5 separate regions of the Homo sapiens genome follow, and regions 2, 3, 4 and 5 are each linked to region 1. Evidence: promoter capture Hi-C in 16 types of primary human blood cells and fetal thymus (Javierre and others, 2016). All regions are on one chromosome and are shown on one strand. The core of a region is centred on a gene start or on the middle of the fragment in contact, and the rest is flanking DNA. Distances in the headings are between cores, read along the strand shown. Region 1 holds the start of CLRN3 (clarin 3). Region 2 has its middle 50 kb from the start of LINC01163. Region 3 has its middle 69 kb from the start of LINC01163. Region 4 has its middle 62 kb from the start of MKI67. Region 5 has its middle 37 kb from the start of MKI67.

Evidence for each region. The method cuts DNA at HindIII sites, captures the fragments that hold promoters and counts their contacts. A CHiCAGO score of 5 or more calls a contact.
Region 2: a fragment that was not itself captured here is called in contact with the fragment with the promoter of CLRN3 in region 1 in 2 of 17 cell types (monocytes and neutrophils); the score reaches 6.0 in monocytes.
Region 3: a fragment that was not itself captured here is called in contact with the fragment with the promoter of CLRN3 in region 1 in 4 of 17 cell types (monocytes, M0 macrophages, M2 macrophages and 1 more); the score reaches 9.5 in monocytes.
Region 4: a fragment that was not itself captured here is called in contact with the fragment with the promoter of CLRN3 in region 1 in 4 of 17 cell types (monocytes, M0 macrophages, M2 macrophages and 1 more); the score reaches 7.4 in monocytes.
Region 5: a fragment that was not itself captured here is called in contact with the fragment with the promoter of CLRN3 in region 1 in 7 of 17 cell types (monocytes, M2 macrophages, M0 macrophages and 4 more); the score reaches 14.1 in monocytes.

What each region holds. Positions count from the first base shown.
Region 1 is chr10:127,891,587-127,894,342 of GRCh38, forward strand. It overlaps CLRN3 (clarin 3), which reads right to left and starts at 1,355. Exons shown (of 3, transcript NM_152311.5): 1 at 970-1,355. The coding sequence starts at 1,198. The HindIII fragment of the contact is 797 bases long and covers 1,159-1,955 here.
Region 2 is chr10:128,234,564-128,237,319 of GRCh38, forward strand. No RefSeq gene overlaps it. Among named protein-coding and RNA genes, the nearest start is that of LINC01163, 50 kb to the right of the region's middle. The HindIII fragment of the contact is 1,279 bases long and covers 803-2,081 here.
Region 3 is chr10:128,215,976-128,218,731 of GRCh38, forward strand. No RefSeq gene overlaps it. Among named protein-coding and RNA genes, the nearest start is that of LINC01163, 69 kb to the right of the region's middle. The HindIII fragment of the contact is 7,504 bases long and covers 1-2,756 here.
Region 4 is chr10:128,186,983-128,189,738 of GRCh38, forward strand. No RefSeq gene overlaps it. Among named protein-coding and RNA genes, the nearest start is that of MKI67, 62 kb to the left of the region's middle. The HindIII fragment of the contact is 5,504 bases long and covers 1-2,756 here.
Region 5 is chr10:128,161,834-128,164,589 of GRCh38, forward strand. No RefSeq gene overlaps it. Among named protein-coding and RNA genes, the nearest start is that of MKI67, 37 kb to the left of the region's middle. The HindIII fragment of the contact is 6,337 bases long and covers 1-2,756 here.

The DNA.
Region 1 (2,756 bases), core at 105-2,604:
TTGGGAACATAACCAGGTTGCTTTGGATTTAAGAAAATAGTTTCATTAACAAAGTCATAAACACACTAGAGCTAGAACTTAGAGCTAGTGTCTAGGACTCAAACTTCTTCATGCATTACACAAGGACTAAACATTACATGTGTATAAGGTAGAAAATGATGCATATTTATAAGTCAAAAGGTAATGACTGTATGATACCCAATAATGCCTGTATAATACTTGCATACAACATTGTTCAAAACAAAGTCCACTTAATGTGTTACATAATTTACAAATGTTTTTAAATTTAGAAAACATGAAGGTAGGTTATCAAACCTCAAAAGTCAAATAAGTAGCTAAATCAACTTATTATTCTCAATGAACTTTTAATTTTACTTCCATGGAGAGGAGGGCATTATTATATAAGAAATCAGAAAAAAAAATGTTTAGGAATTCCTATCAAATATACAATTAATAAATTAATGGAAATTTAATATAATTTCCAACGATTAGATTTTTTGGAGGTAAATTAAAATCAGTTAAAGAAATGAACTTGAGAAATAGAGATAATAAATTTTCCATTTTACTCTTTCCTGCATAGATGCCACTTGTGAAGTTCTAGACAGAGGTTGTGGCTCCAGCTAAAAACCCAGTCAATACAGTTAAAACATGTGTTCCTACTGGCTATTCAATGCCGTATTGCTGCCACATATTTTTACTTATTTACTTGTCAGTCAACTTGGTAGGTATTATTTAAATACAGCCACTGCTAGAATGATATAGACTATTGTATTAATAGACACAAGGAGAACCGAGGAAGCTCAAATAATGACATGGCAAATTTCCAAAATTATGAGTTAAGCTTGTACCTTCAGCCTAACCCAAAACTTACAAAGAAATTATTTTTGAATGGTTATTTGGCCCAAATATAGAATGACATAAACCTTAATTCAATCTCACTATATTCATTCAAATTAGTTTATCATTTACCTGCAAACTTTTTCTTTGGTTCTGCAAGTCCGTGACTCAATTCTTCACTACTCTCCCCACGAAAAAGTCCGTAAGTGATGAAAATGCTCCCATTTGAAGCAGAGTCTCTAACAGCAATTGTACTGGTGATCCATGCTTGTGTCCCAAGAATAGAGCAAATTACAATGAAGGACCCAAGGCTGGTGAAAAAGCTTGATAAGAACATCAATGTCTTCTTTGTGGTAGGCATTTTCACAGGAAAATAAGTTCTCTAGGACAAAAAAAGGAATATCTTCTTATAACACTTTTGAACCTTATCTTTTGAAGTCTGGTATTTAGAAATGGAGTCTAACACTTTATTGTCAAATATAAAATCTCACTCTTCCTGAGGAAGGGTTATGCTAATGGACATTGAACTCTGAACATGGCCATAAAATTAACAGTAGCTGAACTTTGGTCTGGAGTAAGAGGCTGCTATGGTTACAGCCAACCAGCATGAACAAGGGGTGGGCATGGTCTTCCCAGGGACTTCCTCAATCATGCAATTAATTTATAATCCTTGGCCAAGTGTCATGGAAGCAAGTTTAGCCTACCATATCATGACAGGAGTAGAATTCCTAAATAATAGGGCGTGGAGGATCTGTATTCCCAAAGCGTTGCTGAGTCTAGCAGACAACAACATGAAACCCCAACTCCTCCAAGAATTATTGGAAATATGTAAACATATACTTCACTATTGTGGATATTTATGTTGCTTCAATTTCACAATTATGATTGAGAAAGAACAACACCCAAATATCTTTAGGCATAAACCTTTGTTCATATCTCCACTTGCTTCCTTGCTTAAACTTCTAGAAGTTTGACGAAGTCTGTGGATTTTTCTGAAGTTTTTGCTATGCATTGCTCAGTTTCTTTACTCATTAGTGATTTGACTCTTATAATTGTTCCAAGAGGAATCCTAAGGAGGGTAAACCTTTGTCAAATGTACTGTGGAGTGGAAAGAGAAAAGCTTACACCTCCTTATGTTTTATACCTCTCTATTTTTAGACTTTATCAGAGAGGTTTGGCTTTCAAATTTCCTCTTTCAAATTGGATCATATTTGCGTATTATTTAAATTATATCTTGAGAAGTTTCATCTTTATTACTTTTTAGTACTCTGATAGAGATGGTTCTGAACATTCTTGTTTTTGGTCGTTATAGCTGTATCCACTCTGTTGAATGGTAAATAGTTTATAAATGGTCATTTCTGGACTTTCGAAAAACTCTCCCATTTGGCGAAAAGATCATTTCTTGAGATGATAAATAGACATTCATAGCATGTTTTCCATACCGCTTTTTACTGTATTCTTTGATTATTTAGTAATATAATATTAAGTTGGTGCAAATGTAATTGCAGTTTTTGCCATTAAAAGTTACATTTACTTTTAATGGCAAAAAAACGCAATTACTTCATCCTCTACTTTTCTTCATTAACACCTAACTTATTTGTGGAACTAGCTGATCATCTGTCTTTTCCGTTATTGTAACTAGATGACATGCTCCGGGAGGTGGACATGTTTGTTTTGTGTACCACTGGATTCCAGGGAACTCTCAAAGAGCCTGGCCCAGAGAAGACACTCAGCAAACATTTGTTCAATAAATTATTGGAGATACGTACACACATACTCTACTACTGTGGACACTTATGTTGTTTCTATCTTAAAATTATGATTAAGGAAGAACAATGCATGAACATCCTTATGCATAAACCTTTGTCCATATCTCTGATTATTTCTTTGGTTAGACTTCTAGAAGTGAGTCAAAGTCT
Region 2 (2,756 bases), core at 192-2,691, 340 kb after region 1:
CAAATACATTTTAGGGAGAAGTCATGGGTATGATGTAACACTGGTCATGACAATGAGAAAAGCATTTTTAGGTACTTAAAATATGAAAGGTTGGTGGAGAAAATTTAATAAGAATTCTAAAACTTGCCTGGGAGTTTGAGGAGAAAAAATGGATTAAATTTTTAGTAGCAACCTAGCATGCCCAGCATAATAAATATTAGGTCCCTGGGGACCATCAGGTGTCACTGCAATGATGGAGACCAGCCTCATTCTTACGTCTCCTTGGTAGGGAAGCCACAGAAACCAGAAACACAATACTTGAGATATACAAGTACGTGGCCAGCCAGAGAGAGTCCCTGGGCCTGGAGGCCAGATGGCAGCCAGGAATGCAGGGCTCTCCCTGGGGCTGCAGGAGAGGACAGGGCCAGTGTGGGTCTAAAGGGAAATTGAGAGCTTTTCTCTTGGCTCCTTATGGCTTATTGATGAGGCTAGAGGGAGTTTCTGATTTCGGACCCCGTGCCCTAGGAAGCCTCTGATTTCACCCTTTGTTTTCCTGCCTCCTGAAGACAGTGGGATTGCCTGGATCTGCAGGGGTCAGGTGTCAGGGGTTCTAATTCCTTTCATTCTTTGAGTTGCTTGGAAGGGCCTTGGGAAAGTGACGGCAGGCCTGCCTGTCACTCCTGATGGCCAAGTGGGATCAACACATTCGTTATAAGTTTGTGTTATTGTTCACAAAGCTATCGCTTATTTCAAACAGCAGCCTCAAGGTCCTGGAGAAGTTCATGGGTGTGTGAAGTAACTCAGGTCTTCTTGTGCACAGTGAAGCTTGGTTTATGGGCTGGGAAAGGGAACATTGAGATGGGAAGGCATGTCCAACAACCATTCCATTGATCTGAGGGTTGACCTAGAAAAAGGCCCAACAGAGCCCTTTACTGTTCCTGGCATATAATACCAACATGTATGTTGAAAGAATAGCCGTGGAGGGAGGGCAGTGAAGCAGCGAAGTTCCCTGCTGTGCTGCCATGGGGAATGATGCGTATCCCACACTTGGGTAGGGGCTGTCAAGGGATGACCCGGTGCCTTCTTGCCCAGTGAACAGCAGACTCGGCACGGTCCTAATCCAAACTGATTTGTTAGAAATACCAACTTCTCATTTGATCACTTGAGTTTCCAAGACTAAGTTACTGCAAATGCTATGATTTTGGTAACATTTTCTGTGCCTTGAAAACTTTCTTTGGTGATTCTAAAAATTACTGTTAAGCCTGAATAATTTTAGGTAACATTAAATAATTTTGACTTCAATGGCTAACAGTTATGGAGCACTCAGTAAGTGTCAGGTATTGTGCTAAGGACCTACGTGCATGAGCCCATTGATTTGTCCTACAACCCCACCAGGTATTTGATGTTATTACCCCCATTTTACAGATGAGGAAAATGAGACACAGAGAGGTTGAGTAATAGCCCTGGTAGCACAGTGGGCAAGGTGCTAGCATGGAACCAGGAAATCTGAATACAAAGCTCAGGGCATCTTCAGAGGTCTGTGTCTCCCAATCCCTTCCTCCCTTCAGCCAAAATCATGGTTGGTTTGGATTCTGGTATAAGAAATTAAAGTGGCAAAGTAGTGTCCTTCAAGAAAGCAAATGACAATGTGTCCACCTGGAACCACCTGCAAGGGCAACAGTGGGGGCATGGAGGTGTCTATGCCTACGTTAGACAGCAGAGCTCAGTGTCATAGAGGAGTTGAGTAGAGGGAGGAGGAGGAGAGTGCCACACAGAGAGGACGAAGGAATGGAAAACACATGCGCATACACACATGCACACACGTATGTGCCTGCACTCACATGCAGGCACCCTCATGTGCACACCCAGCTGTGCCTGTGCATGCAGCAGAGGAAGGGGAGATGGGGAGTGAAGGAGGAACTGAGTGAAGAACAGCAGACCAACAGGCACCTGGGTGACTCCAGCAGAGCACAGGGCTCCACATGGAAGGTGGGTTCAACAAGATCAGCTGGGATCTTTGGGGGGAATGGCTTGGGTAGGAGGCATCATTTTTCTTTTTATATATAGGCTTTATTTTTTAGAGTAGTTTTAGGTTCATAGCAAGCTTGAGCACAAAGTCCAGAGTATGCCCATATTTCCCCTACCCCCAAGAGAAGCACTTTTTTTGCTATAAATTTTAAGCTGAACTCTATGGTGCAATTTCTAATGTAAATGCTTGTAGTCAACACCCACTGAAAATGGGAAATGCTGGATAAGTTGTGTTCTCTGTGACATATTTTACAATCTAAGACATAGGATGGACTCCAATTCCCATTGAATCTGGCATTCTTTTCATCCTTATAGGATGTCCCTGGAAGATTGTGTATGTCCATGGGCTGAGGAGGGCGAGGTTGTCTCAGGTCAGTTGCATCCACTCTGGACACCTAGTCCAGCTGGCTGAGCTGTGATGGCTGGAATTGGCTTTGAGCCTCATCAGCTGATGGGGTGGACAGGCTGGAATCAAGTATAGGAAAAATGTTCCCACACACTCTAAACACACATTTACCTCTGCTTTGGGATTCCAGCTGATTTCACAACAAACACCACTGATTTCAGAGCCCTGGTATTGCAGCCACTGGTCACGTCCAGCCATTCTGAAAAGTTGCTCAGCCCCTCTTTTTGCTGACTTGGGTTCACCTGGATTTTCAATTCTGGGGAAAAGTTTTGTGACATCTACTTCCACCTTGGCCCTCTGTCTCCCCACAGCCCTACCCAGTCACCCATTGCAGGCTCAGTTG
Region 3 (2,756 bases), core at 189-2,688, 320 kb after region 1:
GCCCGAACATGCAGAACAGGAGGCAGTGGGCCTGCAGAGAGACCTGTCATGGCAGACCAGGGACAGCAGGGTCCTGGGTTCTTGGCACACACAGTGGAGGGGGGGGGTGGCCAGGGCAGGTGGAGGGCAGAGGGCAGAGGGCCCCGCTACGAATGCAGAGAATGGCTCGGAGACTCAGAGAGTGGCCAGCCCAGAAGGGAGAAGTGAGGACCTTGTCTTTCCACAGATGGACTGTGTGGCCTCCTGTAAACCCCTTTGCTTTCCTGAGCCTCAGTTTCTCCTTTATACCTCCTGGGGTTTCTCATAGCAAGTGCATCTGGTTGGCCCTAAAATTTGGCTGGGGCAATTAGAGGTTTCTGGGAGCTTCCTTCTTTGGCAACTGGTTTGCCCTCCTGATGCTTTTTGGGGCTGGGGGGTGGTTCAGAGCACACAACTGAACCTGTGGGGCAGCTCCCTCGTCTGCAAACCTTGTCCACAGCTGTGCACAGTGTGGCATAAGCCAGCAGAGGCAGGAAGAGAGGTGACTCCCAGCTGGACACGGGCAGTGGCATCTGTGGCATCTTCCTCCGGGCTGGCCCTCAAGCCTGACCCCGTCTGCAGGCATTAGGAGCTGGGAAGGGCCGCTCTCCACTGCCTGGTGTAGAGAATCCACTCTGTTGTATCCAAAGTGGCTGACAGAAGGGAGGAGGCAAAAGAGCCCTTGGTGAGTGCGTTTTCCACTGGAGCTGGAAGGGAATGGGGTGGATGCGGTGTCTGGGGACCAGGGTGCTTCCATGCCTGGTATTTCCCCACCATGCAGCCTGATTTTCAGAGATTTACAAGAGTTCTTAATGAGCAGGGGCTGTCTGAAGCCATCTGCACCCATGCCCCTGCCCTCTACAGTGACTCTTTCTGCAGCGGGGGCTTTTCCTTCCCAAGGAGGCCTTTGTCCCGCCCAGACTCCATGGCCAATCAGGCCTGCCGTAGGTGAGTGACACCGAGTCTGCATCTGACTCCTCAGAGCTCCATCCAACCCGTGCGCGGGGACAGGGCTCAGACTGCAGAAGTTAGCTTCGGCCACACTTAAAAAAAATAAGGTGAGCCATGAAATTTGATGTTCACAACCTTCTTGCTGGGGGTGGCTGATGTCGTTTTAACATTCAGAGAAAGATTATGTTCACAAATTCAACATGTCATTTTGGATTCTTAGTTCATTGGGCATGGGGGTCAACCTTCCCTGTAGTTTGTCGTGAGCGATGAAAGACTAATCATTCCTATGCTCTACCACATCCTGTGGTCTGGCCTTTATGAAAGTGAGGCTGTGCGTGTGCTATGTGGGCTGGACATTCAGAATGTGGGTGTTTGGAGTAGGAAGACGGGAGGACAGTTGGGGAAGTAGATGCTGCCTGTTGGGCTTGCTGATGGCTGTGATGACCCCATGCAGCTGGAAAATGCCTGCTGGACCTGGCTTTGACCTTCAAAATTAGGGGGCGGGTTCCCACGCACCAGGTGGGTGGAAATGCTCACAGCAGAGGATGAGGCGGCTGGATGCCAAGCCTATAATTAAAAAAGGGCTTTGCAGATGGGTCCTTTTAACTCATCTCCATCTTATAAACACTGAGAAGATATAGGAAGGGCAAAGTGGAGACTAGGAAGATTACAGTAATATAGCTTCTCGGCTAATTGATTAGCAATTATGGCTGGTAATATTGTTCATTTTAATTGTGTTTAATCTCTATTTTGGTAATAAAGATTATTGTTTTGGATTATGACTTTGTCCTACTATACTAATTAGTAACTTGTGAAATTAAAGTGTATATTTTCACATCCTGAAAAAAATTCACAACCTGCTCTTATATAATAGCTTCCCTTTCTGAACAGACCAGTTGTTTGGGGGTGTTTTGTCCTTAACATCTTAGAAGGACTGAATTTTGACAAGCAAAGTATGTGATATTTGGCCAGTTGACCAAGAAATAGAGGATTTATTTTAAAAAGTCATGTTTTTAAGGGAAGGAAAGAAACAGAAGATATTGCCAGAAATAAATCTGAAAAGTGAGAGAACACAAGTAGAATTACTTGGAAAATGGATTTCTAATTTTCCAGAGGAGGTGTCCCTAGAGTCAGGCCTGCTGCTCTTGACTGATTGCAGTGGCAGAACCCCACCTCAGAGCCCTGCACCCCACTTTTCCACGGTTACGCCTGCAGGCACTGCCTGGTCTCCTCCCTCCTGAGACAAACGTCGGTTTGACACATCTATTGCTTGTGCTTAGATTTTTTTTTCCCCACAAACTTTTTGTATTGAGTAGCCCACACTTGCAGCTACCATTTCCTCCCCACTGCCTCATCCTGACTCTTGTAGAGCAACCACACTCATGGACCTTTCCCACAACCCACCCCCAACAAAGGCATTTCCCCAGGTCACATTCAGGATCTCTACAAGCCGTTGACCTTATGTGTCTCCCTCTCCTGACCCTGGCCTTCCAATGCAGCCATGAGCTGCATGACAATGTTTCAGTCAACAACCCAATGCTTGCACCACCGTGCTCCCATAAGATGATACTGGAGCTGAGCTGAAAAGTCCTATTGCCTGGTACCAGTGTGGCCCTCATGACGCCTGTGCAACACCTGACTCGTGTTTGCGGTGATGCTGGTGTAAACAAACCTCTTGTGTTGCTGGTCATTTGAAAGTCTAATGCACCCAATTATGTCCAGTACATAATACTTGCTAATGATGATAAACGACCATGTGACTGGCTTATGTATTTACTATATTATGC
Region 4 (2,756 bases), core at 92-2,591, 300 kb after region 1:
GCCCAAGCTGGTTTTAAACTCCTGGCCTCAAGTGATCCTCCAGCTTTGGCCTCCCAAAGTGCTGGGATTCCAGGCATGAGCCACCATGCCCGGCCAATGTGTTCCAGTTATTATAATTATGGTGAGACTGCCATGCTTCCTAGTCCTTGGGTGCCACTGTGGCTGGCTGGATGAGCCCCTTTCAAATGCTTCCTAGCAACCATCCCTTCTGGAAGTCCGAGGTGGGTAACTTGAGCTCATGTTTAAGTCAGATTTATTTTACTTTAAGTTGTCCCCTTTTAGGGCTAATTTAGCAACACGCATGCCCTTTCTCAAGATTCTTATCAGATGGTGGTGAACTTTTAACGAATATAATGAAAAACATTTCCCCATCCTAGAACACGGGGGAAGGCAAAATGCAGCTTGACCCCGTCAACTTCTTTCATCTGGTCTCTGTAATCAGTTTTATGAAAAGCACATGGCTGCCCTGCTCTATCTTGATAAAGAACAGTTTTTCTGTTCCATTAAAAAAAATCGTTGGAGAGCTGTTTTTGATGTTGAGAGAAGACGAGGTGCAGCTGAGGGAGATGGGGAGGAGCCCTCTCCTCTGCGCCCTGTTTCGGGGGCAGCGAGCCCAGTGGGTTCTGCCTTTCAGGTCTGTTCCTTCATTACGGCAGCTGCACAGGAGGTCGCTGTCTGGGGACAGTCTCGGGTTCCTCCCCACCAGGGCTTTGTAGAGATTCACGCCTCAAGCCCAAGTGTATCCGGGAGCAGGGGCGAGGCAGCTGCAGCTGCCTCAAATGAAAATGAAAGAGGCATTTGTTCTCATCAGTATTGCTTAGAAGAGAAGAGGACTGGTCCTGGAGGTGTTTTCAGAGAGTTTTTCCAAACAGGAAAAGTTTTGGGTAATAGGCTGTCTTCCCAGCCAACTCCTAAGAGACCTGGTTGTGGGTCTGTAGTATATCAAAACTGTTTTGACCACAAATATTTATTGTACATCCACGAGGTACCAACCTTGTTCTAAGTGCTTAAACTATGTCAGCGAACAAACGAATAAAGCATCCTCCTCTCCTGTAGCTAGCTCAGACTCAGAAGACAAATGAGGACTGGAATCAGTCAATCATGCAGCAGGTTAGAAGGTGAACGTGGTGTAGAAAGAAGGGACAGCAGAACTGAGCAAGGGATCAAGGATGCCAGGGATGGAGGGGCCACAGGTAGTCTATTTAGAAGGATGGCTGGGAGGAGTCTTATAAGAGAGGTGAGATTTAAGCAAGAACCACTGCCCCCAACAAAAAAACCCAAAAAACAAAGCATCCCAGCTATGTGACAAGAAAAATACTTAGATGTGTGTGCTCATTTCCACCTCATGAGGATTCCAACGTTGAGAAGAGAGAGCTCTGGTGACTGCCAGCCTGTTACACCCAACACATGGATGCTCCTGGACTGGTGAGACCTAAGTGCCTGGCTCTTCAGCCACCCCCTCCCCTTGGCACCCTTCTTTGTCTTGCTTCTGAAGTGCTAGCCTTGCCTTTTTTTTTTTTTTTAACCCTTTCAGGCCAGTTTCTCTGGCCTCTTTCTTGGGTTTCTTTTTTTTCACCAGTTTCTTTGAATGTTGGTTCTCCGAGGTTCTGTTCACCCCACCCATCTATTTCCCTTGGATCATCTTGCCCACACCACAGCTTTTACAACCACTGGTCAGCTGGCAACTTGAGACCATCTCTGAGCTGAATGTCCTTCCTGAGCCCCAGTTCTGTCCCCCCAGGTGCTTTAGGAAGTCTAAAGCTGAACTCATCAAACCTGTTTCCTTTGGGGAATTTTGTTGGTAACAGCTCTGCTTTCCAGCTAATGATGCAATCAGAAAGCCAAGAATCATTTCAGTTGTCCCTTTTCCTTTCCCAGCAATAATCAATATGCAAGGTGCTCACACATTGACAGTGACAGCGAACATTTGCTGAGTGCTCCTGGGTGTTAGGCAGCGCCCCCAGAGCTCTGCAGAAGGCAGGTGGGGACACATGGAAATACCTGGGCAGGGGGAAGTGGAGTGAGCAGCAAAACTAGGACTTGAACCTATGCCCTCAGACTCTGGAGGATGCACCTTTAACCACCCCCATGAGATGAGGTCTTAGAGGTGCCCTGGGGTCAGATCCTGGAGGACTCCTCAGCTCACACTAAAGACTTTGTACTTTATTTCTTAGCAAAGTGAGACCATGAAAGGATCTCAAGTGGGGTAAGAAAGAGAGGGGCACATCATGTGGTTTTTACTTAGAGGATCACTCTAGCTTCAGGGTGGGTGTCAGATGGTGGGAAAGAGGGGACGATGTCATGTTGTAATAGTATTGGCAAGAGACAATGCCGGCTTGGAGTGGAGCAGGGAGGCGAGGGTGGAGAGAAAGAGATGAGATCAGGAGATGTTGAGGAGACACTGTCAAGAATCTGGTGAAGTGCGGTGGAGGTGGCTGCCAGGAACAGGGAGTGACAGGATTGTCACCTGCTCTTGCATCCAATTCAACTGCTTAGGAAAACAATGCCTTATTATAAAAGTCCTACATCTTTATTGTAGAATACAAAATGTAGAAAGAAAAACAAGAACAACATGTCTAGGTCCATTATGCACTGATAACTACTATTAATATTTGGTATTCACACATAGAGTGATATCTATATCTATATTGATATTATATATATATAGTCATGTGTTGCTTAACAACAGGGACACATTCTGAGAATGTATCAGTAGGTGATTTCATTACTGTGCAAACATCACAAGAGTGCACTTT
Region 5 (2,756 bases), core at 113-2,612, 270 kb after region 1:
CCTCAGGTCAGTTGCTTCCTGGACTTCCCTGTGTCCAGTTGAGATGCCAGCTCTCCCCCAGGCAGCATCCCTTCCAGGCCCAGCAGTCTATGATTCTACAAGACCACCTTTACGCAGGAGGGTCCCTATGGGAGGGGCTCACCGCTGTCCTCCGGACTCACTGCCACGTCTCACCTTTTCCCCACTCCTGGTCTTCCATGCACTGGCCATTCCTTCTCAGCCCCACTGTCTCCCTAACAGCTCTTGCCCCTACTAGTTGCCACTCTGGACCATTCTATGGCCTCCTTACAACTTCCTGCCCCCCTCTCTTCTCTCCTTACAGGCCTTGTCTTCTTTCCATGAAGGCTTTTAGAACAGAATGTTTTTTGTGTTGCTTTTCTCCTCACCTCCTCAACAAACATGAGAAAAAGTCCTTAGTTCTTGGCCCCACACTAAGGGCTGAGCACACTCTGGTTACCACCGATCTCTCCGGACTTGTTAACCGTCCTTCCTCACCTGCGGCCAGGCTGCTTTTTGGGTTGCCTCCCAAACATTTAGGAGCAGAAAGTATAAGTATGGGCAGAAAAAGGAAGAAGAAGGCACATACAAGTGTGAAGAACAGGCAAGAAGAGAAACAGAACTGGCAGCTCCTCACCCTCACGCTGGCTGCCCGGTGTCTGGGGACCCTCCCAGGGTGCACTCTCCCTGCTGGAGGATGGACACTTCTGACCCCACCACCCACTCCTTCCATGAATGATAGAGCCCCAGAATTCAAGATTTCATTAAAAAAAAATAAAAAAGAGCTCAGAATAATGGCAGAATGATGGTATCTAAATGAGTTTACAGACATTTAATTATAACTGATTACAATCTCAAAATATATCTCAGCATTTTTTGGTCTTTTCTTTCCTTTTTTGAGACAGAATCTCACTCTGTTGCCCAGGCTGGATTGCAGTGGCGTGATCTCAGCTCACTGCAATCTCCGCCTCCCAGATTCAAGCGATTCTCCTGCCTCAGCCTCCCGAGTAGCTGGGACCACAAGCGTGCACCACCACGTCTGGCTAATTTTTGTATTTTTAGTAAAGACAGGCTTTCGCCATGTTGGCCAGGCTGGTCTCGAATTCCTGACCTCAGGTGACCTGCTCGCCTTGGCCTCCCAAAGTGCTGGGATTACAGACATGAGCCACCATGCCCGGCCAAGTCTTTTTACTATATAATAGAATATTAATGTAGAAGTGGATAAATGCACCTCTTCAGCCGGCATGCTGGAATATTACTCATGAAGTGAATGGTGCCTTATTAGTGTTAACAGGACCTGTCCCATCTCATAGGGAATGGGTGTTGCTTTGGGTACTACCGTCCGCCTTTTATTCCCACAGAGCCATGCCGAGACCACAGGACAAGAGCGATCCCTGTCCCTATATCTCAGCACCAGGTTATTAGTGACGCCCCTTAGGTTCCCAGCTCCACAGGCAGCACAAACCCAGCCGGCATCATGGAGAGTTGTTGAACTGGGTTTTGCGTGTAGAGTGGGCTGGGTGGGAGGGGCACCCACGAGGGCTTCCAGAGAAGCCAGCCGTGGGGCTGGTTACCTGAGAATGAGGGTCTTTTCTAAAGGAAGCCCCTTTGTTGGGGCAGCTGGTGGGGAGCTGGGCACTCAGGGTGAGTTGGACCCCAGATCCCCTGTCATTGGCAGCTGCTTAGCCTGTGTGGGCCTCAGTTTCTCCATCCCTAAAATGGGAATATCAGGGACTCTGTAGGTTGTTACAGCCTCAGTGGCCTGGATAATTTCTTAGCAAAGTGTCCTGCACTGCTATTCTTGGAGCTCTAGTGTTTTTTTAACTTTTGCTGAATCCGGCCCTTGATTTGCCATTTACAAAGTCCCCCAAAGAGAGGGCAACATATGGGTCCCCCTCATTTCAACCTCCTGGACTGGTCCTGATCTATCAGGGCCTCTCGATGTGGTCTTGGGCCAGTTGGTTTGAGATCATCAGCTTGTATTACAGAGGATCCAGGTTTCTTACAACTCAATTTAGACGCTACAGTGGAAATGCGCTTTGGAATGAGGCAGAGCAGGTTGGAGTCCTGGCTTTGCAACAGGATGTGTGGCTTTTTGCCAGTTTCCAAACCTCTCTGAGTCTTGATTTTCTCATCGGTGAAAGGGTAAAAAGCCTGCTTCTCAGGGAAGCTGTGAGAATTAAATGAACTGGCATATGGAAAACACACAAGCAAACCACAGGCACCCCACAAACGGGCTTTCCCTTTCTATCTTTCCTTAAACACAGCTCCCTCCCTCGGGTCTCTGGTCAGAATCTTCCCATGTAGTACTCTTTGTGACACCTCAAATTCCTGGGTTCTGAGACTGGACGTGGAGGGCCAGCCTTAGGCAGGGGAAATGGTGGTGCAAAAAAGTTCAGTGGAAAAGAACAGCAATGAAAGCAAACGAGCATCTTACTGTGTGGCCTGGGCTGTGGGAGTCTCAGGGAGAGGCCTCCGTCACCATCCACAGCTCAGGGGGCCAGGAAACTCTGGTTGCCAACATTTAAGGCAGCGTTAGGATTTTATGTGAGCAGAAAATGCCAGTTTTAGATCACTATTTTCTCATTGTTTGTAAGAAAATATCATTTATACTCAAAAGGAATGACTGCTTTTATTAATTTAAAAGCTGGGATGTGGAATAAGCAAATTAGTGAGTTATTCTTCAAGATAGGTACAAAAATTTTGAGTCTGAAAAGTCAACTTAAACCCCAGATTATTTCGAGAAGCTGCCCTAATAA